5 separate regions of the Homo sapiens genome follow, and regions 2, 3, 4 and 5 are each linked to region 1. Evidence: promoter capture Hi-C in 16 types of primary human blood cells and fetal thymus (Javierre and others, 2016). All regions are on one chromosome and are shown on one strand. The core of a region is centred on a gene start or on the middle of the fragment in contact, and the rest is flanking DNA. Distances in the headings are between cores, read along the strand shown. Region 1 holds the start of NANOS3 (nanos C2HC-type zinc finger 3). Region 2 overlaps ADGRE5 (adhesion G protein-coupled receptor E5). Region 3 overlaps LINC01841 (long intergenic non-protein coding RNA 1841). Region 4 has its middle 57 kb from the start of LINC01842. Region 5 overlaps ADGRL1-AS1 (ADGRL1 antisense RNA 1).

Region 1 (4,509 bases), core at 656-3,155:
TAGGCTGGAGTGCAGTGGCCCAATCTCAGCTCACTGCAACCTCTGCCTCCAGGGTTTGAGTGATTCTCTGGCCTCAGCCTCCCAAGTAGCTGGGATTACAGGCATCTGCCACCACAGTGGGCTAATTTTTGTATTTTTAGTAGAGACGAGATTTCACTGTGTTGGCCAGGCTGGTCTCAAACTCCTGACCTCAAGTAATCCTCCCCCCTCGGCCTCCCAAAGTGCTGGGATTACAGGCATGAGCCACTTTGCCTGGCCTAAAACCCCTTTCTGAAATGTGGGTGGTAAGTTCTGCTCCGTGGAGTGCTCCATAGTTTTGTTTTTTAAATTAGAGACAGGATCTCGCTCTTGTCACCCAGGCTGGAGTGCAATGGTGTGACCTTAGCTCACTGCAGCCTCTAATAACTGGAGTCAAGCGTTGATCCTCCCGCCTCAGCCTCCCCAGTAGCCGGAACCACGGGCACGCACCACCACACCTAGCTTATTTCGAAAAAGTGTTTTTGTAGGAACAGGGTCTCAAAACGTTGCCCAGGCTGGTCTCCAACTCCTAGGTTCAAGCAATCCTCCTCGGCCTCTCAAAATGAGCCACAGTGCCTGGCCAATAAAAGTTTCTTAAATGAATGGATGGGTGGATGAGCTGTGTAAGCGGCACAGCGTCTCTCCTCTGTGTCCAAGTCCTGAGCACACCCTCCCCTCCTGGGACTGAGCTGAGATCTCATCTCGGGGAGGACACTGAAGACCTGTAGGTACTAGGGGTCCCCTCCTAACAGCCCAACTTGCTATCCCCCACCTCCCAACTCCAGAGGGTTCTTTCTCACCCCTCTGCAGCCCCCGCCAGGAAAGGGCTCCCTCCCCAGCACCTAGCCTCAGGGGGCCCCAGTAACTAGAAGAAGGAGGCAGATGTGGTGCTTTTTGTTGTTGTTGTTTTGAGACAGAGTCTTACTCTGTTTCCCAGGCTGGAGTGCAGTGGCTTGATCTTGGCTCACCGCAACCTCTGCCTCCTGGGTTCAAGCAATTCTTCTGCCTCAGCCTCCTGAGTAGCTGGGATCACAGGCACCCGCCACCATGCCCAGCTAATTTTGTGTGTGTGTGTGTGTGTGTGTGTATTTTTAGTAGAGACAGGGTTTCACCATGTTAGCCAGGCTGGTCTCGAACTCTTGACCTCAGGTGATCCGCCTGTCTTGGCCTCCCAAACTGTTGGGATGACAGGCATGAGCCACCACTCCCTGGCCTGGTGCATGTCTTTATAAATAACTGGATGGGCAGGTGGCTTCACACCTCAGTTTGCTCATCCATTCAATGGGGGTTCCACTAAGACAACCGATGTGAAAACTCTTGGAGGGAGACCAGAGCTGGGGGCCGGGGGGCATGATCCTTCCCCCCTACCCCCGCAACCAGCCCATGAGCCTGGGACTACCACACTCCTTTCAGAGACAGCTGGAGCATCAGCAACCTCCCGCCTGGACACACACACACACAAAGAACCCAGGGGCACCTGGCCACTCCCCCGCCCAGGGGAAGGAAGAAAAAGTTATAAAGAAGTTACTAAGTTAACTTCTTTAAGTTACTGGTAACTGCTAGTCTTTGGGGGTGGGGTTTCCAACCCATTCTCCCCATCCTCCAGTGGGGCTGGAGGGCTAAGGACTCCTACAAGGAGGGGAGGCAGGGTAGCCCCCCAATTCCCTGGAGGTGTGTACGGGGGGCTGTGGTGCACCTCGCAGGATGCCCCCCCACACACCCTGTGTCCTGTAGTCCCCCGGCACAGCCAGAGGCCATACAGCCCTTTAGGAGGAGTATTAGTGGGGCACCAGGCCCCCCTGTGACAATAAGGAACCTCCCACAGCCTGCTCCTCCCTCTTCACACCCCCTTGGAGGTAAAAGGAGGGTCGGCCAGCACAGACTCCCAGGCTCCAGAGAGGGGAAGGAAGGGGCAGCAGAGAGGGGTCAGAAGGAGGGAGCTTAAGCCAGGCAGGGTTACTTGTCTCTGTGACTCCTTCCGCCTGGCACATGCTGCCCAGCTATGGGGACCTTTGACCTGTGGACAGATTACCTGGGTTTGGCACACCTGGTTAGGGCTCTGAGTGGGAAAGAGGGTCCTGAAACCAGGCTGAGCCCCCAGCCAGAGCCAGAGCCAATGCTGGAGCCGGTGTCAGCCCTGGAGCCGATGCCAGCGCCGGAGTCGGTGCCAGTGCCGGGACCCAAGGATCAGAAGCGCAGCCTGGAGTCCTCGCCAGCTCCCGAACGCCTGTGCTCTTTCTGCAAACACAACGGCGAGTCCCGGGCCATCTACCAGTCCCACGTGCTGAAGGACGAGGCTGGCAGGGTGCTGTGTCCCATCCTGCGGGACTACGTGTGTCCCCAGTGCGGCGCCACACGTGAGCGCGCCCACACCCGACGCTTCTGCCCACTTACTGGCCAGGGCTACACCTCCGTCTACAGCCACACCACCCGAAACTCGGCAGGCAAGAAGCTGGTCCGGCCTGACAAGGCGAAGACACAGGACACAGGCCACCGCCGAGGAGGAGGAGGAGGAGCAGGTGCCTGCACAGGTGGCTGGGGGGGACCTGTCCGAGGGTAGTGGCTGAGCCCCCCTGTGAAGTAAGATTAGCCCCAGTACCCACCTCCAAGGGTTAGGGGAAGACCTTAGAGAGAGCTTAGAACAGCAGTTGATTTTATTTACGTATTTATTTATTTATCTTGAGACAGGTCTCTTTCTGTTGCTCAGGCTGGAGTGCAGTGGCGCCATCTCGGCTCACTGCAACCTCCACCTCCTGGATTCAAGCGATTCTCCTGCCCCAGCTTCCTGGGTAGCTGGGATTATAGGCGCGCGCCACCACACCCGGCTAATTGCCACCATGCCCGGCTAAATTTTGTATTTTTAGTAGAGATGGGGTTTCACCATGTTGGCCAGGCTGGTCTCAAAACTCCTGATCTCGTGATCCGCCCACCTCGGCCTCCCAAACTGCTGAGATTACAGGCGTGAGCACCGCACCGAGCCAGTTTGTTTATGTATTTATTTATTTATCTTGAGACAGAGTCTCTTTCTGTCACCCAGGCTGGAGTGCAGTGGCATGATCTTGGCTCACTGCAACCTCTGCCTTCCGGGTTCAAGCGATTCTTCTGCCTCAGCCTCCTGAGAAGCTGAGATTACAGGCGCCTGCCACCATGGCCAGCTAATTTTTGTATTTTTAGTAGAGATGGGGTTTCACCATGTTGGCCAGGCTGGTCTCGAACTCCCAACCTCGTGATCCACCCTCCTCAGCCTCCCAAAGTGCTGGGATTACAGGCATCAGCCACCACATCTGGCCCGCAGGGTTATTATAGATGCAGAAAGAAGACTTTTATTTTATTTATTTATCAATTTATTTTTCTTCCTTTTTTTTTTTAATTTTTTTTTTTGAGATAGAGTCTCGCTCTATCCACCCAGGCTGGATGGAGTTCAGTGGTGCGATCTTGGCTCACTGCAACCTCTGCCTCCTGGGTTCAAGCGATTCTCCTGCCTCAGCCTCCCGAGTAGCTGGAATTACAGGCGTGCACCACCATTCCTGGTGTGTTTTTTTTTTCCTCCCATAGAAACAGGGTCTTACTATGTTTCCCAGGCCGGTCTCAAACACGGCTTAGGTGATCCTCCTGCCTAGGCATCCCAAAATGCTAGGATTATAGGCGTGAGCCACCACGCCTGGCCCCAGTGAGGTTTTCTTTCTTTCTTTCTTTTATTTGATTATTTTTCTGAGATGGAGTCTTGCTCTGTCACCCAGGCTAGAGTGCAGTGGCGCGATCTTGGCTCACTGCAACCTGTCTCCCGGGTTCAAGCGATTCTCTTACCTCAGCCTCCCGAGTAGCTGGGATTACAGGCACCCACCACCACGCACGGCTAATTTTTGTATTTTTAGTACAGACGGGATTTCACCATCTTGGCCAGGCTGAGTCTTGAACTCCTGACCTCGAGATCCACCCGCCTTAGCCTCCCGAAGTGCTGATATTACAGGCTTGAGCCACCATGCCTGGCCCCCAGTGAGGTTTTAAAAGAGAAACTCGTTCTAGCAACTTAAATTGCCTTTGAGGAAGTCAGCTAACAGAGGAGGGGCCAGTCTAACTAGGTGTGTTTGGGCACTGCCTCCCCCAGCAGACTGTGAGCTCCTGGAGGATAGTGACTGGGAGAGGACGACCCCTCCCAACTACTCTCAGGCAGCTTTGCAGTGAACATTTCTTAAAGTCATGAAAGGGTCAGGTGTGATGGCTTACACCTGTAATCCCAATACTTTGGGAGGCCAAGGCAGGAGGATCGCTTGAGCCCAAGAGTTTGAGACCAGCCAGGGCAACATGGTGAAACCCAGTGTCTACAAAAAATTAGCTGGGCATGGTAGTGTGTGCCTGTAGTCCCAGCTACTTGGGAGGCTGACGAGGGAGGATCGCTTGGGTCCAGGGGACAGAGGCTGCAGTGAGCTGAGATGGTGCCACTGCACTGCAGCCTGGGCAACACAGCAAGACCTCGTCTTAAAAAAAAAA
Region 2 (4,509 bases), core at 1,367-3,866, 510 kb after region 1:
AAGAGGGGAATCCTGACAGAAGTGGGGAGTACGGGCTTGGGCTGGGGGGTTTCGGCCTTGGTTTAACCCAGCTGGAAGGAGTGTGGAGGTGGGAGTGGGGATCTCTGCCTTCCACCCACCTAAGGGGTACTAAATTTGAACACAGTGGCTGAGTGGTCCGGGGACCTCCAATCTGCACCCCAAACACCCGCCCTCTGAAGCTGTGCTCATAACAGACCCCAAAATTCCCCTGGAAGCCCCTCCAGGGTTGAATTGGGGCAAATGAGTGGTGAGTCATTCCTTCCCTTAGGCCCAGGAAGTGACTCATGCCCAGCCGTTGTCCTGGTCCCCATCCCTCTGCCCGACACCCCCCTTCAGGTCTCCCTGGATTATTGGGGTCCCCAGTATTCCCAGATCGGCAGGGACTGGACGTCCCCTCCCAGCCCGCCCCAGGCCCCACCTGCCGCTCATATCCCAACGCCCTCCGTTCCCCTGCCCTTCCCCTCTGTTTCCATCCACCCTCCTTTCTCATGGTTTTCTTTCTTCCTCACTGTTTATCTCTCTGTCTCTCTGTTCTCTCTGTCCCATCTCCTCCTGTTTCCCCTTCTGCTCTTTATGGGCCCCTTGTTTCTCTCTCCACCTCTCTCTATCACCATGTAATTTCTGTCTCTCTGTCTGTCTCTATCTCTCCGTGTCTCTGTCTCCTCTGTCTTATATTTCTCTAGCTGTCTTCTTTCTCCTCTCTGTCTCCCTCTCTCTCTCCAGCTTGTCTCCTTTCTCCTCTCTGTCTCCGTCTCTGTCCCTCTATCTCTCTGTCTCTCTCTCTCTTTGTTCTTTTCTTTTCTTTCTTTTTTTTTTTTTTGAGACTCTTGCTCTTTTTTTTTTTTTTTTTTTTTTGAGAGTCTTGCTCTGTTGCCCAGGCTGGCGTGCAGTGGCGGGATCTCAGCTCACTGCAACCTCTGCCTTCTGTGTTCAAGCGATTCTCCTGCCTCCACCTCCCAAATAGCTGGGATTACAGGCGTGTGCCACCATGCCCGGCTAATTTTTTGTATTTTTAGTAGAGATGGGGTTTCACTATGTTGGCCAGGCTGGTCTCACACTCCTGGCCTCAGGTGATCCATCTGCCTCGGCCTCCCAAAGTGCTGGGATTACAGGCGTGAACCACCAAGCACAGCCCCCCACCTTCTGTCTCTCTGTCTCTTTGTGTCTCTGTCTCTCTTTCTGTGTCTCTCTTTCTTTCTGACTCTTTCTCTCTCTCTGTCTGTCTCTCTCTCTCTCTAATCTCTATTTTCTCTCCACCCCTGCTTCTTTGTCTCTATCTCTCTGGTGAACAGCAAGGAGATCCCTAGGTCCCCATCTCTGAATCCCCTGGTGACCTGAGGAGGGTCCCCCAGAACATGCCTTGGGAGGGGGAACCCCCTGAGTGCTGGGAACCGCCACTCCACGTGCACCCCAACAGGCGGCTACAGCGTCTTCCTGTGGGAGGGGGGCCCGGGGGTGAAATATCACCACTGGGTTCCAGGACAGACCGCCAGGGCCAGTGGCAGTTGTGGGTGTGGTGTGTGTGCACCTGTGTCCCTGAGGAAGCGTGGAGGTCCAGGGCATCTCAGAGCCTGGGTGATCCAACACCGTCATTTTTTTTTTTTTTTTTCTGAGACGGAGTCTTGCTCTGTCACTCAGGCTGGAGTGCAGTGGCGTGATCTTGGCTTGCTGCAACTCTGCCTCCTTAGTTCAAGCGATTCTCAAGCCTCAGTCTCCCAAGTAGCTGGGATAACAGGCACCCACCACCACGCCCAGCTAATTTTTTGTATTTTCAGTAGAGAGGGGGTTTCACCATATTAGGCAGGCTGGTCTCGAACTCCCGATCTCAAGTGATCCACCCGCCTCGGCCTCCCAAAGTGCTGGGATTACAGGCATGAGCCACTGTGCCTGACCACGCCTTCATTTTTACCTAAAGAAATGAAGATGGCAGGCAGGGCCTGGCGGCTTGTGCCAGCACTTTGGGAGGCCAAGGCAGGTGGATCACGAGGTCAGGAGATCGAAACCATCCTGGCTAACATGGTGAAACCCCTTCTCTACTAAAAATATAAAAAGTTAGCCAGGCGTGGTGGTGGGCGCCAGTAGTTCCAGCTACTCTGGAGGCTGAGGCAGGAGAATGGCGTGAACCCGGGAGGTGGAGCTTGCAGTGAGCAGAGATCACACCACTGCACTTCATCCTGGGCAACAGAGCAAGACTCCATCTCAAAAAAAAAAAAAAAAAAAAAAAAAAGAGAGGCCGGGCGCGGTGGCTCACGCCTGTAATTCCAGCACTTTGGGAGGCTGAGGCGGGCGGATCATGAGGTCAGGAGATCAAGACTACCATCCTGGCTAACATGGTGAAACCTTGTCTCTACTAAAAATACAAAAAAATAAGCTGGGCGTGGTGGCGGGAGCCTGTGGTCCCAGCTACTCGAGAGGCTGAGACAGGAGAATGGTGTGAACCCGGGAGGCGGAGCTTGCAGTGAGCCAAGTTTGCACCACTGCACTCCAGCCTGGGCGACAGAGCAAGACTCCGTCTCAAAAAAAAAAAAAAAAAAAAAGAGAAATGAAGATGGCAGGCTGGGCACGGTGGCTCACGCCTGTAATCCCAGCACTTTTGGAGGCCAAGGCGGGAGGATCACTTGAGGCCGGGAGTTCAAGACCAGCCTGGCCAACATGGTGAAACCCCGTCTCTACAAAAATACAAAAAAATCAGCCGGGCTTGGTGGCGGGTGCCTGTAATCCCAGATACTCTGGAGACTGAGGCAGAGGAATTGCTTGAACCCGGGAGGTGGAGGTTGCAGTGAGCCAGGATCGTGCCATCGCACTCCAGCCTGGGCGACAGAGAGAGACTCTGTCTCAGAAAAAAAATAAAATAAATAAATAAATAAAAGAAGAAGAAATGAAGATGGCAGTAAATGCTCAGGCACACCGGACAGCAGTCATGTGGTTTACTCCCACACACACTACACTGGGGAGTGGGCGCCATCATCCCTATTCTACAGAGGGAAACTGAGGCAGAGAGGCCCACTGTCTGGGATTTGAACTGGGGATGCCTGGCTCCTGTCTGTTTTCTTAGCCACTCCCCACACACCCCAGGTCAGAAGAGCAGCAGCTGGAGCTGAGACCCCCACCAGGCTCATGGCCCTTCCCTACTCAGTTCCTGAAACTCCACCCTCAAGCCGAGCTCGGGAGGCTGAGGCGGGGAGGATCGCTTGAGGCCAGGAGTTCAAGATCAGCCTGGGCAACAGAGCAAGACTCTGTCTGTAAAATAATTTTTTGAATTATTTTTAGGCCGGCCACAGTGGCTCATGCCTGTAATCCCAGCACTTTGGGAGGCCGAGGTGGGTGGATCACGAGGTCAGGAGATCGAGACCATACTGGCTAACACAGTGAAACCCCATCTCTACTAAAAATACAAAAAATTAGCCGGGTGTGGTGGTGGACGCCTGTAGTCCCAGCTACTCGGGAGGCTGAGGCAGGAGAATGGCATGAACCCAGGAAGCGGAGCTTGCAGTGAGCTGAGATCATGCCACTGCACTCCAGCCTGGGTGACAGAGTGAGACTCCGTTTCAAAAAAAAAAATTATTTTTAATTTTTTGGCCTGGCATGATAAATTATTTTATTTTAAAAATTTTGAGTCAGGAAATGTGGCTCACGCCTGTAATCCCAGCACTTTGGGAGGCCAAGACAGGCAGATCACCTGAGGTCAGGAGTTCGAGACCAGCCTGGCCAATATGGTGAAACCCTGTCTCTAGTAAAAATACAAAAAATTAGCCGGGTGTGGTGGCAGACTCCTGTAATCCCAGCTACTCAGGAGGCTGAAGCAGGAGAATCACTTGAACCCAGGAGGTAGAGATTGCAGTGAGCCAAGATCACAGCATTGCACTTCAGCCTGGGCGACAGAGCAAGACTCTGTCTCAAAAAGAAAAAAAAATTTAGTGCACACCTGTGGTCCCAGCTACTTGGGAGGCTGAGGCAGGAGGATCTCTTGAGCCTAGGAATTGGAGGCTGCAGTGAGATATGATTGCACCACTGCACTCCAGCCTGGGTGACCAAGCAGGAGCCTGTGTCAAAAAAAAAACAAAAACAAAAAAACCCGCCCCTATGGGAACAGGGTGACAGACTCTTTGGCTTTGAGCATCTGAGTGGGACATGACATCTGCTCACTCTGAACGACCGTCAGGATCTGAGCCTGAGAGGGGTCAGCATCCTCCTCCCACAAAGTGCATCACCCTTACGCCTCCTTTCCCACCCTGGGATCCCCTCTGACCCCCTTTCCTTTCTCTGTTGCAGCATTCTGTGTCTGGCTGACTCTGCCGGGAGCTGAAACCCAGGACTCCAGGGGTGAGTCTGCTGGGAAGCAGAAAGCACAGTCCACAGCCAGAGCCTGGGGAGGGTCCTGGACCCCCGCCCAGCCCCCTTCAGCCCAGGGAAAGAGAGGGCTCGCGCACGAGAAACTCAGCGCCCTGCCCCATCTCCCCCAGTGCCCCCTTTTTGTGTATTCCCTTA
Region 3 (4,509 bases), core at 572-3,071, 470 kb after region 1:
GGCATTTAGTGGGTCCAGTTCAGGGACGCTCAATGTCCTACAAGGGACTGGGCAAGGTGGCTAAGGCCTGTGATCCCAGCACTTCGGGAAGTCAAGGCACGAGGATCACTTGAGGCCATGAGTCCAAGGCCAGCCTGGGCAACATAGCAAGACCTCATCTCCCCTGCAAAAAAAAAAAAATCCTACAAGGCACAGAACAGTTCCCCAGAGCAAAAAATGATGTGGCCCCAAATGTCAAGAGTGCTGACATTGAGAAACCCTGGTCTACGGGAAGCCACTGGGCCCCACGTGGAAACAGCTCAGTGCACGCACATTATTCAAATGCAGACACAGTGGGTGCACCGGCAGCATTAGACCACACATACCCACTGTGCACCAAGTCCTTGAACTAAGGAAACAGCAGGATCATCCACACCTGGTGTGTTTTCCTACCAAGATGTATAAACCAGCAGAGGAGACCCCCAATTCCACCCAGATGTGGGGCCCTGCCCAGACCAGCTTTTTGTGCAACTCACAGACACCCTGGAAAGTGGTTCAATGACCATTAAAACCATTTTAGAGACGAGGCAACTGAGGCCCAGACAGGGTAAGTGTTTTGTTGTTGTGTTTTTGTTTTTGTTTTTTGAGATGGAGTCTTGCTCTGTTGCCCAGGCTGGAGTGCAGTGGCACCATCTCAGCTCACTGCAACCTCTGCCTCCTGGGTTCAAACGATTCTCATGCCTCAGTCTCCCAAGTAGCTACAGGCGCGTGCCACCACACCCAGCTAATTTTTGTATTTTTAGTAGAGACAGGGTCACTCCATGTTGACCAGGCTGGTCTCGAACTCCTGATCTTAAGTGATCCTCCCACCTTGTCCTCCCAAAGTGCTGGGATTATTGGCATGAGCCACTGTGCCCAGCCCAGACAGGAGAAGTTTATGACCCAGCTAGAAACCCAGAGACCCCTTAGGCATGTGTAGACATGCTTTTGAAGGCAAAGAGGGTAGGATGAAAGGAGACCCTCCCCACCATCATCTCGGAATTGAGATAAGGAGGGACAGGAAGGGCTTTAGCTTCCCAGAGGGAATCCTGTATCACTTTGGGTAACTAGAAAATCTATTGAAAAATGTTTTTAGGCTGGGCGAGGTAGTGCTCACCTGAAATCTCAGCACTGAGGGAGCCTGAAGCAGGAGGATGTCTTGAGCCCAAGAGTTGGAGACCAACCCGGGCAACATGGCAAGACTTCTCGTCTCTGCAATAAATAAAATACAATTTTTGTTGTTGTTGTTGTTTGTTTGTTCTTTTGAGACGAAGTTTCGCTCTTTTTGCCCAGGCTGGAGTGCAATGGCGTGACCTCAGCTCACTGCAACCTCTGCCTCCCGGGTTCAAAGGAGTCTCCTGCCTCAGCCTCCCGAGTAACCGGGATTACAGGCGCATGCCACCACGCCCAGCTAGTTTTGTATTTTTAGTAGAGACGGGGTTTCGCCATGTTGGCCAGGCTGGTCTTGAAATCCTGACCTCCAGTAATTCACCCGCCTCAGCCTCCCAAAGTGCTGGGATTATAGGCGTGAGCCATGACGCCCAGCCAAATACAATGTTTTTTAAACATACATTGTTTTTTAAACATTGGCTGACTCTTGGCCAAGCATCACGCCTGTAATCCCAGCACTTTAGGAAGCTGAGGCGGGCAGATCACTTGAGGTCAGGAGTTTCACACCAGCCTGGTCAACGTGGTGAAACCCTGTCTCTACTAAAAATACAAAAAATTAGCTGGGCGTGGTGGCGCGTGCCTGTAATCCCAGCTACTCGGGAGTCTGAGGCAGGAGATGGCTTGAACCCAGGAGGCAGAGGTTGCACTGAGCCAAGATCCTGCCACTGCACTCCAGCCTGAGTGACAGAGCAAAACCGTGTCTCAAACAAACAAACAAACAAAATGGGCTGACTCTGGACTCACACAGGCCTGGTGTCTCCAATCCCAGCCTTGCCATTTTCTGGCTCTATGAACCTGGGTGAGCCGCATCGCCTCCCTGAGCCTCAGTTTCCCCATCTGTAAAACGGGGATTCACCCATTCACCATTCCACAAATGTGCACCCAAGACCCACTGACACCAAGCGCTGCGCCCAGCTCTAACCTATATAAAGTTAAGGAAGAACACGAACATGGTAAGTGCGTCTCCCCCTCCCCCAGGCATGGAGCTGCTGAACTAGTTTTGGGAATGGAATCAGAGCACGCGTGGACAGATGGAGGGAGCCCTCAGCTGCCCGGACTCTGCAGCCCACCACCCCCACTCTTCTCAGATCCCCCTCGTTTGACCAAAAAGCCCCTCTACCACGAGGTAGGACCCCAAGCAGGATCCCAGGGACTGGCGTCCAAATCCGGGCCAGGAACTGACCCCAGCAGCCAGACCCGGGACGGGGCTAAAGCTCGGGTTTTTCCACCTCCGCTTCCCGCCACTGCAGCGCGGGGAGCGAGCGCCACCTGTGGGCCTCCAAGGGGAGGTGCGTGCGACTCCCGGGGAGGTGGACGGTCGCCCCCGTTTCTCCCCAACCCGGGGGACCTCGGGCCCTCCAGGAGTTTCGGAAACAGCTCTCATCTCTTAAATTCTCCTCCACAACCCACTTTTCCCGGCTGCCATTTCCCAGCTAGAACTCGTCGTCCATGCATTCATGCAACATTTATTGAGCACCTACTGTGTGTATTGAGCAAACCTAGATCATTGCTCTAGGTTTAGAGTACACAGAAGACAGAATGGGGCTGGCTCAGGCCTGTAACCCCAGCCACTCAGGAGGCTGAGGTGGGAGGATCACTTGAGCCCAGAAGATGGAGGCTGCTGTGAGTCATGATGGCACCATTGCACTCCAGTCTGAGAAACACAGCGATACCCTGTCTCTAAAAGTAAAAAGAGGCCAGGTACAGTGGCTCGGCCAGGCACGGTGGCTCACGCCTGTAATTCCAGCACTTTGGGAGGCCAAGGCGTGCGGATCACGAGGTCAGCAGTTCGATACCAGCCTGACCGACATGGTGAAACCCCCTCTCTACTAAAAATACAAAAATTAGCCAGGCGTGGTGGCGGGCGCCTGTAATCCCAGCTACTCAGGAGGCTGAGGCAGGAGAATTACTTGAACCCAGGAGACGGAGGTTGCAGTGAGCAGAGATCGTGTCACTGCACTCCAGCCTGGGCGACAGAGCAAGACTCCATCTCAAAAAAAAGAAAAAAAATGGAAACAAAACAGATAAACCTCCATGCCCTTCTGGAGCTTACAGTCCAAGGGAAGAGAGAAGAGAGGAGGAAGAGGACAACAGGCTGCAAGATCATTGCTGATGGCAGTAAGTGCAGTAAGTGTTCTGAAGGAGAAAGTATATACAGGGATGTCACTGAAGCACCTGCTGTGGGTAGAGTGGGTGGAGTGGGCTCTGAGGAAGTGACGCTTATCCTGAGGCCTGAGAAGAATAAAGCCCCAGCCATGCCGAGTCTGGAGCCAGGATTTCCAGTAGAAGGCGCAGCCAGCGCAAAGGCCCTGTGGCAGAAAGGAGCTCGGGTGTTGAACAGTGGGAAAGGAGGTCACAGTAGCCAGAGCCGAGAGATGAAGAAACAGGTGGGCTGCGATGTCAAGGCCTATTTTGGAGACAAATCTGATCTCTCACTCCCCCTGAGGAGTCACCTCCTAAAAGCCCGAGGGGAGAAGAAGGCTCACACTGAGCTAAAAGCCCTCCAACACCACCAGCTGCACCCTTCTCGTCGCCCACCCACAGATATGGTGTCGCCCACAGAAAGAAGCCCTGGCCCATGCACTGTCCCCCTACCCACCCCACCACTCTCCCAGGACTTTGCCTCTGACCATATTGACCCCAATTATGCAGTTAAGGTGCACGTGGTCGGCTCTGCTTGCAAAGTCCCCTTCTTACCCCCTGCCCATCTCCCTGGGAGACACAGGGAACCATGCAATGTGCCTTCCAAGACCAATGCTTGGCCAGGCGCGGTGGCTCATGCCTGTAATCCCAGCACTTTGGGAGGCCGAGGTGGGCGGATTGCCTGAGGTCAGGAGTTTGAGACTAGCCTGGCCAATATGGTGAAACCCCGTCTCTACTAAAAATACAAAAATTAACCGGGCGTTGTGGCAGGCACCTGTAATTCCAGCTACTCGGGAGGCTGAGGCAGGAGAATCACTTGAACTTGGGGGGCAGAGGTTGCAGTGAGCTGAGATTGTGCCACTGCACTCCAGCCTGGGTGAAAGAGTGAGACTCCGCCTCAAAAAAAAAAAAAAAAAGTTGCCAGCCCCACACACGGACCTCAGCCCGGCCTGCCCCCTTTGCCTTCATACTCCCGAGAGCAGTCTCCCCATGTGGCCTGACAACCCCAAAAGGGACTATGCAGGGAGGAGATCTGGTTTCATGAACATTGCTCTTGGGATCCCTGCCTGGGGGTGGCCACGAGAGAGGCTGTGGGTCTTGCGCAGCCACAGAAGGGGAGCAGAGCCCTGTCCCCGACTCCCCGCCAGTGCAGAAGGGGTACACCCTCTCTCCACAGCC
Region 4 (4,509 bases), core at 897-3,396, 400 kb after region 1:
TCTAGGATCTTGGAGCAAACATGTCTGTATTAGTCTGTTTTCACACCGCTATAAAGAACTATGTGAGAGTGAGTAATTTATGAAGAAAAAAGGTTTAATTGACTCACAGTTCCGCATGGCTGATGGGGCCTCAGGAAACTTACAATCATGACAAAAAGTGAAGGGAAAGCAAGGCACATCGTACATGGAGGCAGGGGAGAGAGAGAGAGAGAGAGAGAGAGAGAGAGAGGAGAGAGAGAGAGAGAGAGAGAGAGAGAGAGAGAGAGAGAGAGAGAGAGAGAGAGAGAGAGGAAGTGCCAGACGCTTATCAAACAACCAGATCTGGTGAGAACTCATTGTCACGAGAATAGCAAGGGGGAAATGCTCCCGTGATCCAATCTCCTCCCACCAGGTCCCTCCCCTCGACACGTGGGGATTACAATTCTAGATGCGATTTGGGTGGAGACACAGTCAAACATGTCAGTGTTCTTTCTCTAAGGCTCCATTTTGTCCTCTGTAAAATGGGGTGAGAGGCCCCTACTTAACTGCACGAGCTTGCTCTGCAATTAAAATTGCATGTCATGGGCCAAGGGACTTTGAAAGTGGGACAGCTCCTGCAGGTGCTTTTGGCTGGAGTCACAGGATCCAAAACCCCCCAGTAATCCCCACATCTTTCCTTTCTTTTCTCTCTCTTTTCTTTTTTCTCTTTCTCTTTCTTTCTTTTCTTTCTCTCTTTCTTTTTCTCTTTCTTCCCCCTCTCTCCTTCCCTTCCCTTCCCTCCCTCCCTCCCTTCCTTTTCCTTTTTTCTGAGAAAGAGTCTCGCTCTTATCACCCAGGCTGGAGTGCAGTTTCGTGATCTTGGCTCACTGCAACGTCTGCCTCCTGGATTCAAGCTGTTCTCCTGCCTCAGCCTCCTGAGTAGCTGGGATTACAAGCGCCCACCACCACGCTCAGCTAATTTTTGTACTCTTAGTAGAGATAGGGTTTTGACATGTTGACCAGGCTGGTCTCGAACTCCTAACCTCAGGTGATCCGCCCACCTTGGCCTCCCAAAGTGCTGGGAATACAGGTGTAAGCTACTGCGCCCAGCCCTTTTCTTTCTTTCTTTTTTTTTTTTTTTTGAGACAGAGTCTCACTGTGTTGCCCAGGCTGGAGTGCAGTAGTGTGTTCTCAGCTCACTGCAACCTTCACCTCCCGGGTTCAAGCTATTCTCCTGCCTCAGCCTCCTGAGTAGCTGGGATAACAGGTGCCTGCCACCAAGCCCGGTTAATTTTTGTACTTTTAGTAGAGACAGGGTTTCACCATGTTAGCCAGGCTGGTCTGAAACTCCTTACTGTCAGGACTCTGAGCCCAAGCTAAGCCATCATAACCCCTGTGACCTGCACGTATACATCCAGACGGCCTGAAGCAACTGAAGAACCACAAAAAAAGTGAAATAGTCAATTCCTGCCTTAACTGGCTAATGGTGGATGACATTCCACCATTGTGATTTGTTCCTGCCCCACCCTAACTGATCAATTGACTTTGTGACATTCCTTCTCCTGGACAATGAGTCTCAGGAGCTCCCCACCGAGCACCTTGTGACCCCCGCCCCTGCCCACAAGAGAAAACCCCGTTTAACTGTAATTTTCCACTACCTACCCAAATCCTATAAAACTGCCCCACCCCTTTGCTGACTCCTTTTTTGGACTCAGTCCGCCTGCACCCAGGTGATTAAAAAGCTTTATTGCTTACAGAAAGCCTGTTTGGTGGTCTCGTCATATGGACGCATGTAATACTGACCTCAGGTGATCTGGCTGCCTCAACCTCCCAAAGTGCTGGGATTACAGGTGTGAGCCACTGTGTCTGGCCCTTTTCTTTCTTTTTAGTGGAAATGGGGTCTTGCCATGTTGGTCAGGCTGGTCTCGAACTCCTGGCCTCAAGCAATCCTCCCTCCTCAGCCTCCCAAAGTGCTGGGATTATAAGCATGAGCCACTGCACCCAGCTACCTTTCTCAGTTCTGCCTTAATGTCTCACGTGGCTGTTTTCCTTTTCTCTTGTGTATTCTTTCCTCCCCCTCTGTCTTCTTGCTTTTTTTTTTTTTTTTTTTTTGAGAGAGAGTCTCATTCTGTCACTCAGACTGGAGTGCAGTGGTGTGATCTTGGCTCATTGCAACCTCTGCCTCCCATGTTCAAACGATTCTCCCACCTCAGCCTCCCAAGTAGTTGGGACTACAGGCGCACGCAATCATACCCAGCTAATTTTTGTATTTTTAGTAGAGACAGGGTTTCACCATGTTGGTCAGGCTGGTCTTGAACTCCTGACCTCAAGTGATCCGCCCACCTCAGCCTCCCAAAGTGCTGGGATTACAGGCGTGAGCCACCGCTCCCAGCCTCTACTTGCTTTTTCCTTCTCACACCTCTCTCTTCTCTTCTGGTTCCCTCTCCCAGCCTTCTCTCTGCACCTCCTCCCCTGCCACTTGCTCTCTTCAAACTCGGGGATGTGAGAAAGTTCCCGCAGAAATTGCAATCTCCTCTCCTCTCATGTGGCTCCGAGATAAGACAGTAAAAATCCGATTTTCAGCAATTTGCTTCATTTGTGAGCTCTCCGGAGTCTCCCTTTCTCCCCCTGACATAAGCTTAGCAAAATTGCCTGGGTGGAGTGGATATTTTTAACCACTTAGTAGTCAGAGCGGGTTCAGAAAGTTTTGCAAGAAACCGGGCCAGGCCCTGTGCCTGGGGTTGCTGGCGGGTTTGGGGCTGGAGGGAAGCACGTGGGGTGGCCTCAAAGGGTTTAGTGGAGGGGCATTTAAGAAGAGGATGTCCGCCGGCCATGGTGGCTCAAGCCTGTAATCCCAGTGAGAGGTGACAGTGTGCTGGCAGCCCTCGCAGCCCTCGCTCGCTCTCGGCGCCTCCTGGGCCTCAGGCGCCCACTCTAGCCGCGCTTGAGGGGCCCTTCAGCCTGCGGCTGCAATGTGGGAACCCCTCTCTGGGTTGGCTGAGGCCGGAGCCAGCTCCCTCAGCTTGTGGGGAGGTGCGGACTGGTGGAAACCAGGGCTGCCCGCTGCACTTGCAGGCCAGCGTGAGTTCCAGGTGGGTGTGGGCTCCGTGGCCCCGCACTCGGAGCAGCAGGCTGGCGCTGCCGGCCCTGGGCAGTGAGGGGCTTGGCACCCGGGCCAGCAGCTGCGGAGGGTTCGCCGGGTCCCGGCGCTGTGCTCGAATTCTCGCTGGGCCTCAGCTACCTCCCCGCCGGGCAGGGCTCGGGATCTGCAGCCTGCCATGCTTGAGCCTTCCCCCAACGCCATGGCCTCTTGTGCGGCCTGAGCCTCCCCTACCAGCGCCGCCCCCTGCTCCGCGGCGCCGGGTCCCACCGACCACCCAAGAGCTGAGAAGTGCGGGCGCACAGCGCGGGACTGGCAGGCAGCTCCACCTGCTGCCCTGGTGCGGGATCCACTATGTGAAGCCAGCTGGACTCCTGAGTCCAGTGGGACTTGGAGAACCTTTATGTCTAGCTAAGGGATTGTAAATATACCAATCAGCACTCTGTCTAGCTCAAGGCTTGTAAATGCACCAATTAGCACTCTGTGTCTAGCTCAAGATTTGTAAATACACCAATCAGCACTCTGTGTCTAGCTCAAGGTTTGCACTCTGTATCTAGCTAATATGGTGGGGACTTGGAGAACCTTTAGTGTCTAGCTAAGGGATTGTAAATACACCAATCAGCACTCTCTGTCTAGCTCAAGGTTTGTAAATGCACCAATCAGTGCTCTGTGTCTGGCTAATCTAGTGGGGACTTGGAGAACTTTTGTGCCTAGCTCAGGGATTGTAAACGCACTAATTGGCACCCTGTCAAAATGGACCAATCAGCTCTCTGTAAAACGGACCAATCAGCAGGATGTGGGTGGGGCCAGATAAGGGAATAAAAGCAGGCTGCCCGAGCTAGCAGTGCCAACCTGCTCCCATTCCCGTCCATGGTGTGGAAGTTTTGTTCTTTTGCTCTTTGCAATAAATCTTACTGCTGCACACTCTTTGGGTCTGCATTGCGTTTATGAGCTGTGACACTCACCGCGAAGGTCTACAGCTTCACTCCTGAGGCCAGTGAGACCAGGAACCCACCGGGAGGAATGAACAACTACAGACGTGCTGCCTTAAGAGCTGCAACACTCGCCGTGAAGGTCTGCAGCTTCACTGCCGAAGCCAGCGGGACCACCAGCCCGCCAGAAAGAAGAAATTCCAAACACATCCGAACATCAGAAGGAACAAACTCCCGACACACCACCTTTAAGAACTGTAATACTGCAAGGGTCTGCGGCTTCGTTCTTGAAGTCAGTGAGACCAAGAACCCACTGATTCTGGACACACCAGTACTTTGGGAGGCCAAGGCGGGTGGATCATGTGAGGTCCTGTTCAAGACTAGCCTGGCCAACAGGATGAAACACCGTCTCTACTAAAAATACAGAAAATTAGCCAGGCATGGTAGCACATGCCTTGTCTATAGTCCCAGCCGCTCAGGAGACTGAGGCAGGAGAATTGCTTGAACCCGGGAGGTGGA
Region 5 (4,509 bases), core at 1,441-3,940, 260 kb after region 1:
CAGCCTGAGTGTCAGAGTGAGACCCTGTCTCTAAAAATTAAAATTAAATTTTAAAAAAGAAAGTTCAGTTTAGCTGTCTTGATAGCCGCAGTTGAGTGCTCCTGAGCCCGTGTGACAAGTGGCTCCTGTATTACTGGACAGCGAAGGTCAGAAACACATTTGACCAGGTCACTTCTCCGGATGAGAGCATTGTCTTTGAAACTCTATGCTTTGTCTCCTGTTAACCACCCAGCTCCAACTTCAAACCAGGCTAAGTAACCCTCTTTTTGTTAAAATTCTGACAAGCCACTCCCAGTGCAAAGCCTCTGCCCAGAACCTCTTCTCCTAGGCTCTTGGCATGGCTTATGCCTTCTTGTCATTCAAGTCTCTGTTCAAATGTCCTCTCCCCAGAGAGGCCTTTCTAAGGGTGCTCTGGACAGTGTTCAAACTCACAGGCCGTACGCCTGAACAGCACTGAGCCAAGGCACTAGTATTTCTTACCCAGTCACCTCTGTGGGCTCACTAGGACTCACTCACTGTGCTAGTATGTTTTCCTTTTCCTTTTCTTTTTAAACAATCCAGTTCCTGTGGGATTTTTTTTTTTTAATAGAGGTCTGTTGCCCAGGCTGGAGTGCAAGTGGCATAATCGTGGCTCACTATAACCTGGAACTCTTGGGCTCAAGTGATCCTCCCACCTCAGCCTCCCGAGTGGCTGGGATCACCAGTGCGTGCCACCATGCCTAATTTGTTTTATTTTATTTTATTTTTTTTTTGAGAGGGAGTCTTGCTCTGTCACTCAGGCTGGAATGCAGTGGCGCAATCTCAGCTCACTGCAACCTCCTGCTTCCAGCTTCAAGCGATTCTCCCACCTCAGCCTCCCGAGTAGCTGGGACTACAGGCACACGCTACCTTACCCAGCTAATTTTTGTATTTTTAGTAAAGATGGGGTTTCACTATGTTGGCCAGGCTGGTCTCAAACTCCTGACCTCAGGTGATCCACTCACCTCGGCCGCCCAAAGTGCTGAGATTACAGGCATGAGCCACCGTGCCCTGCCTCTTATACTTTTTAAATTTTTTGTAGAGACAGGGTCTCGCTGTTGCCCAGGCTGGTCTTGAAACTCCTGGCCTCAAGCAGTCCACCTATCTTGTCCTTAAGTGCTGGGATTACAGCGCCTAGCCCATTTTTGGTATCTACATCTCACATTAAGTTAAGAAAAATTCTTTTTAGCTGTTAAAAAATCGAAAGCTTTGTTTTTATTCTTTTGAAATTATTTGGCTTCAAGGAAACTCACATTTATGATTCGCTTGATTTCTTGGCAATCATTGCATACTTAGGGATATTTGTGATTTGAGAAAATCTAATTTCCAAATGTAATTCGATTGCTTATGAATACTAAATTTAATGATTAATGCAGTTGTCATGATGTCACATTTCTAGATGCTTAATTAAACATTTATTCATTCCAACTTTGTAGTTTTCTCTTTGCATTGTGGAACTTTTTTCCCTTTATCCCTGTCCCTGACCTTTTCGTAGCCCCTGAGAAGCTCATGATCCACCAGCATTATTTCCGTGGCGCTAATGAAGAATGTGGCCCTGTCTATGATGCATTCTCCTTACAGCTGGCTGAATGATCTTCACTTGTAAACCAGATCATGTCATTACTCTGCTTAAAACCTTCAGAGGCTTATCCTACTTAGAATGAAACCTAAGATCTTTCCTATGGCTTAGGCGGCCCTGCGTGGTGGCCTCAGCTGACCTCTCAGGCCTCATCTACCATTCTTCCTCTTGTCACCGCTCTCAAGCCCAGCTGGCTTTATTTCCCTTCTTTCAACACACCCAGCTTATTTCTGCCGCAGGGCTTTGCACTTGCCGTTCCCTCTGCCTGGAATGTGCTTCCTCCAGATAATTGCATGGCTGTCTCTTTCTCTTCGCTTGTGGTTCAGCTCAAATGTCCTCTGAAAGAAGACTTCCCAGAGTACCCTATTTAAAGTAGCACTTTCTTGGCCGGGCGCGGTGGCTCATGCCTGTAATCCCAGCACTTTGGGAGGCCAAGGCAGGCGGATCACGAGGTCAGGAGATCGAGACCATCCTGGCTAACATGGTGAAACCGCATCTCTACTAAAAATACAAAAAATTAGCCGGGCGTGGTGGCGGGCGCCTGTAGTCCCAGCTACTTGGGAGGCTGAGGCAGGTGAATCGCTTGAATCTGAGAGGTGAGGGTTGCAGTGAGCTGAGATCGTGCCTCTGCAATCCAGCCTGGGTGACAGAGCAAGACTCCGTGTCAAAAAAAATAAATAAATAAATAAAGTAGCTTTTTCTTAATCACATCACTCAGTTTTATGATCTTAGTAACGCATATCAGAATTTGTACTTATTTTCGGGTGGGCATGGTGGCTCACACCTATAATCCCAGCACTTTAGGAGGCCAAGGCGGGCCGGTCACTTGAGGTCAGGAGTTCGAGACCAGCCTGGCCAACATGGCAAGACCCCGTTTCTACTAAAAAAAAAAAATACAAAATAAATAAATAAATAAATAAATAAATTAGCTGGGCGTGGTGGCACGTGCCTGTAGTCCCAGCTGCTCAGGAGGCAGAAGAATTGCTTGAACCGGGGAGGCAGAGGCTGCAATGAGCCGAGATCACGCCACTGCACTCAAGCCTGGGCAACTGAGAGAGATTCCATCTTAAAAAGAAAAAAAGAATTTCTACTTATTTTGGTTTTAAATTGTGCTTATTATCTCATCATCCCTCAGTAGATTGAAAGCTGGTTGTGAGAAGAGATCTCGCCTAGCTCACACCTCTCAATGTTGTACTTCCAGAGCTTAGCAGAGGACGTGGCTCATAGAAAGTCCTCAATCAATTTTTCAAAAAGAATAAATCTGGCTGGGCGCAGTGAGTCACACACTCTGGGAGGCCGAGGTGGGCGGATTACCAGGTCAGGAGATCGAGACCATCATGGCAAACATGATTAAAACCTGTCTCTACTAAAATACAAAAAATTAGCCAGCCGTGGTGGTGCGTACCTGTAGTCCTAGCTACTTGGGAGGCTGAGGCAGGGGAATTGCTTGAACCTGGGAGGTGGAGGTTGCAGTGAGCCTAGATTGCACCACTGCACTCCAGTCTGGTGACAGAGGAAGACTCCGTCTCAAAAAAAAAAAGAATAAATCTATGTAAAGGGTGGGTTTAGCATAGTACCTGGAATGTGAAAAGTACTCAATAAACATGAACCAGCCAGGTGCAGTGGCTCACGCCTGTAATCCCAGCACTTTGGGAGGCTGAGGCGGGTAGATTGCTTGACCTCAGGAGTTCGAGACCAGCCTGGGCAAAACCCTGTCTCTACAAAACATAAAAAAATTAGCCGGGTGTGGTGGCATGTGCCTGTGGTCCCAGCTACTCAGGAGGCTGAGGTGAGAGGATTGCTTGAGCCCTGGGGGCAGAGGTTGCAGTGAACCAAGATCTCACCACTGCACTCCAGCTTAGCTAGGCAACAGAGTGAGACCCTGTCTAAAAACAAACAAAAGACTGAACTGTTAGTAGCATATAGTAATAAGCAGATACGTCTTCATTCTTGTTTAATACTTCAGGTGCACACATGCTCGAGAAAGTATAAGAAGTGCTATAGCAAAATACTGTTACCCAGCTTAACAGCTAAAACATTAGAGATGCAACTGAAGGGCCCTATACCCCTACATCAAACCCATTCCTCTTCCTTTTTCCTCACATGTAACCACAACCCTGAATTTGGTGTTTACAGTCTTCTGTGCATATCGGCGTGTATCTTTAAACAATATATAGTATTGTTTGTCATGTTCTATACTTTTATATAAATGGTGTCTGCGCAATTTAGAGTTAACCTAGCAGGCCTGAGACTGCTATCCTTAGAAAGACCTGTTTGCAAGATTGGCCCTTGGCTGATATCTAGGAACTTGGATTTCAGGAGGGTTCCTGCCGTTCCCCAAATGATGAGTGCCTAAACTGTTTCCACCAACAATGTGGTTCATGTTGAACACCTGCTCTCCTTCTGGAGTCTGGCATTTTGGTACACGACCACCCCCAAGTACAACTCTGGTCACTGAGTAATGAGCTTCCCTGGTAGACCGCCTATCCGTCGTGCTGTCATACTTGGCGGTAGGAATTGATGGAGTCCTGTGTGACTCCACTAGGAGAGGACTCTTAGAAGCTTGTCCTGGTTTCCTCTGGACTTCAGCTCCTGCATCTTTTCCCTTTGCTGATTGTGCCTTGTGTCTCTTCACTATCATAAATCACAGCCATGCCTACGCTTCCAAGCAAAATCCTGTGACTCCTCTTAGTGAGTCATTGAACCTCAGGGTGGTCTTGGGGACCTCTGATAGCAGGATCATACTGGGTGTATCCTGACAGAGCTGGCACTAAGGTGGCACTGGGTCCTGCCTTCTGAAACTTGCTTTTTTTAATCCAGTGTAATGCTTTTGAGATTTATCTATGTGGAAACGTGTATAGCTCTAATTCACTTATTTTCACTGCTATACAGCTGTGCTGATAAGGTAACCA

The links. The method cuts DNA at HindIII sites, captures the fragments that hold promoters and counts their contacts. A CHiCAGO score of 5 or more calls a contact.
Region 2: a fragment that was not itself captured here is called in contact with the fragment with the promoter of NANOS3 in region 1 in 1 of 17 cell types (monocytes); the score reaches 6.6 in monocytes.
Region 3: a contact is called between a fragment that was not itself captured here and the fragment with the promoter of NANOS3 in region 1, in 7 of 17 cell types (naive CD4 T cells, naive CD8 T cells, monocytes and 4 more). The highest score is 8.7, in naive CD4 T cells.
Region 4: a fragment that was not itself captured here is called in contact with the fragment with the promoter of NANOS3 in region 1 in 2 of 17 cell types (activated CD4 T cells and total CD4 T cells); the score reaches 6.1 in activated CD4 T cells.
Region 5: a fragment that was not itself captured here is called in contact with the fragment with the promoter of NANOS3 in region 1 in 17 of 17 cell types (M0 macrophages, naive CD4 T cells, naive CD8 T cells and 14 more); the score reaches 12.2 in M0 macrophages.

Annotation. Positions count from the first base shown.
Region 1 is chr19:13,875,229-13,879,737 of GRCh38, forward strand. NANOS3 (nanos C2HC-type zinc finger 3) reads left to right here and starts at 1,906. Exons shown (of 2, transcript NM_001098622.3): 1 at 1,906-2,537. The coding sequence starts at 2,021. The HindIII fragment of the contact is 10,444 bases long and covers 1-4,509 here.
Region 2 is chr19:14,384,157-14,388,665 of GRCh38, forward strand. ADGRE5 (adhesion G protein-coupled receptor E5) reads left to right here. Exons shown (of 20, transcript NM_078481.4): 2 at 4,294-4,344. Among named protein-coding and RNA genes, the nearest start is that of ADGRE5, 5.0 kb to the left of the region's middle. The HindIII fragment of the contact is 9,973 bases long and covers 1-4,509 here.
Region 3 is chr19:14,346,180-14,350,688 of GRCh38, forward strand. The region is part of intron 1 of LINC01841 (long intergenic non-protein coding RNA 1841); the gene reads right to left. Among named protein-coding and RNA genes, the nearest start is that of LINC01842, 15 kb to the left of the region's middle. RefSeq lists enhancers at 2,135-3,013, 3,812-4,313, 4,314-4,509. The HindIII fragment of the contact is 7,067 bases long and covers 1-4,509 here.
Region 4 is chr19:14,274,637-14,279,145 of GRCh38, forward strand. No RefSeq gene overlaps it. Among named protein-coding and RNA genes, the nearest start is that of LINC01842, 57 kb to the right of the region's middle. RefSeq lists a silencer at 3,281-3,575. The HindIII fragment of the contact is 896 bases long and covers 1,699-2,594 here.
Region 5 is chr19:14,138,348-14,142,856 of GRCh38, forward strand. The region is part of intron 1 of ADGRL1-AS1 (ADGRL1 antisense RNA 1); the gene reads left to right. Among named protein-coding and RNA genes, the nearest start is that of ADGRL1-AS1, 3.4 kb to the left of the region's middle. The HindIII fragment of the contact is 2,934 bases long and covers 1,224-4,157 here.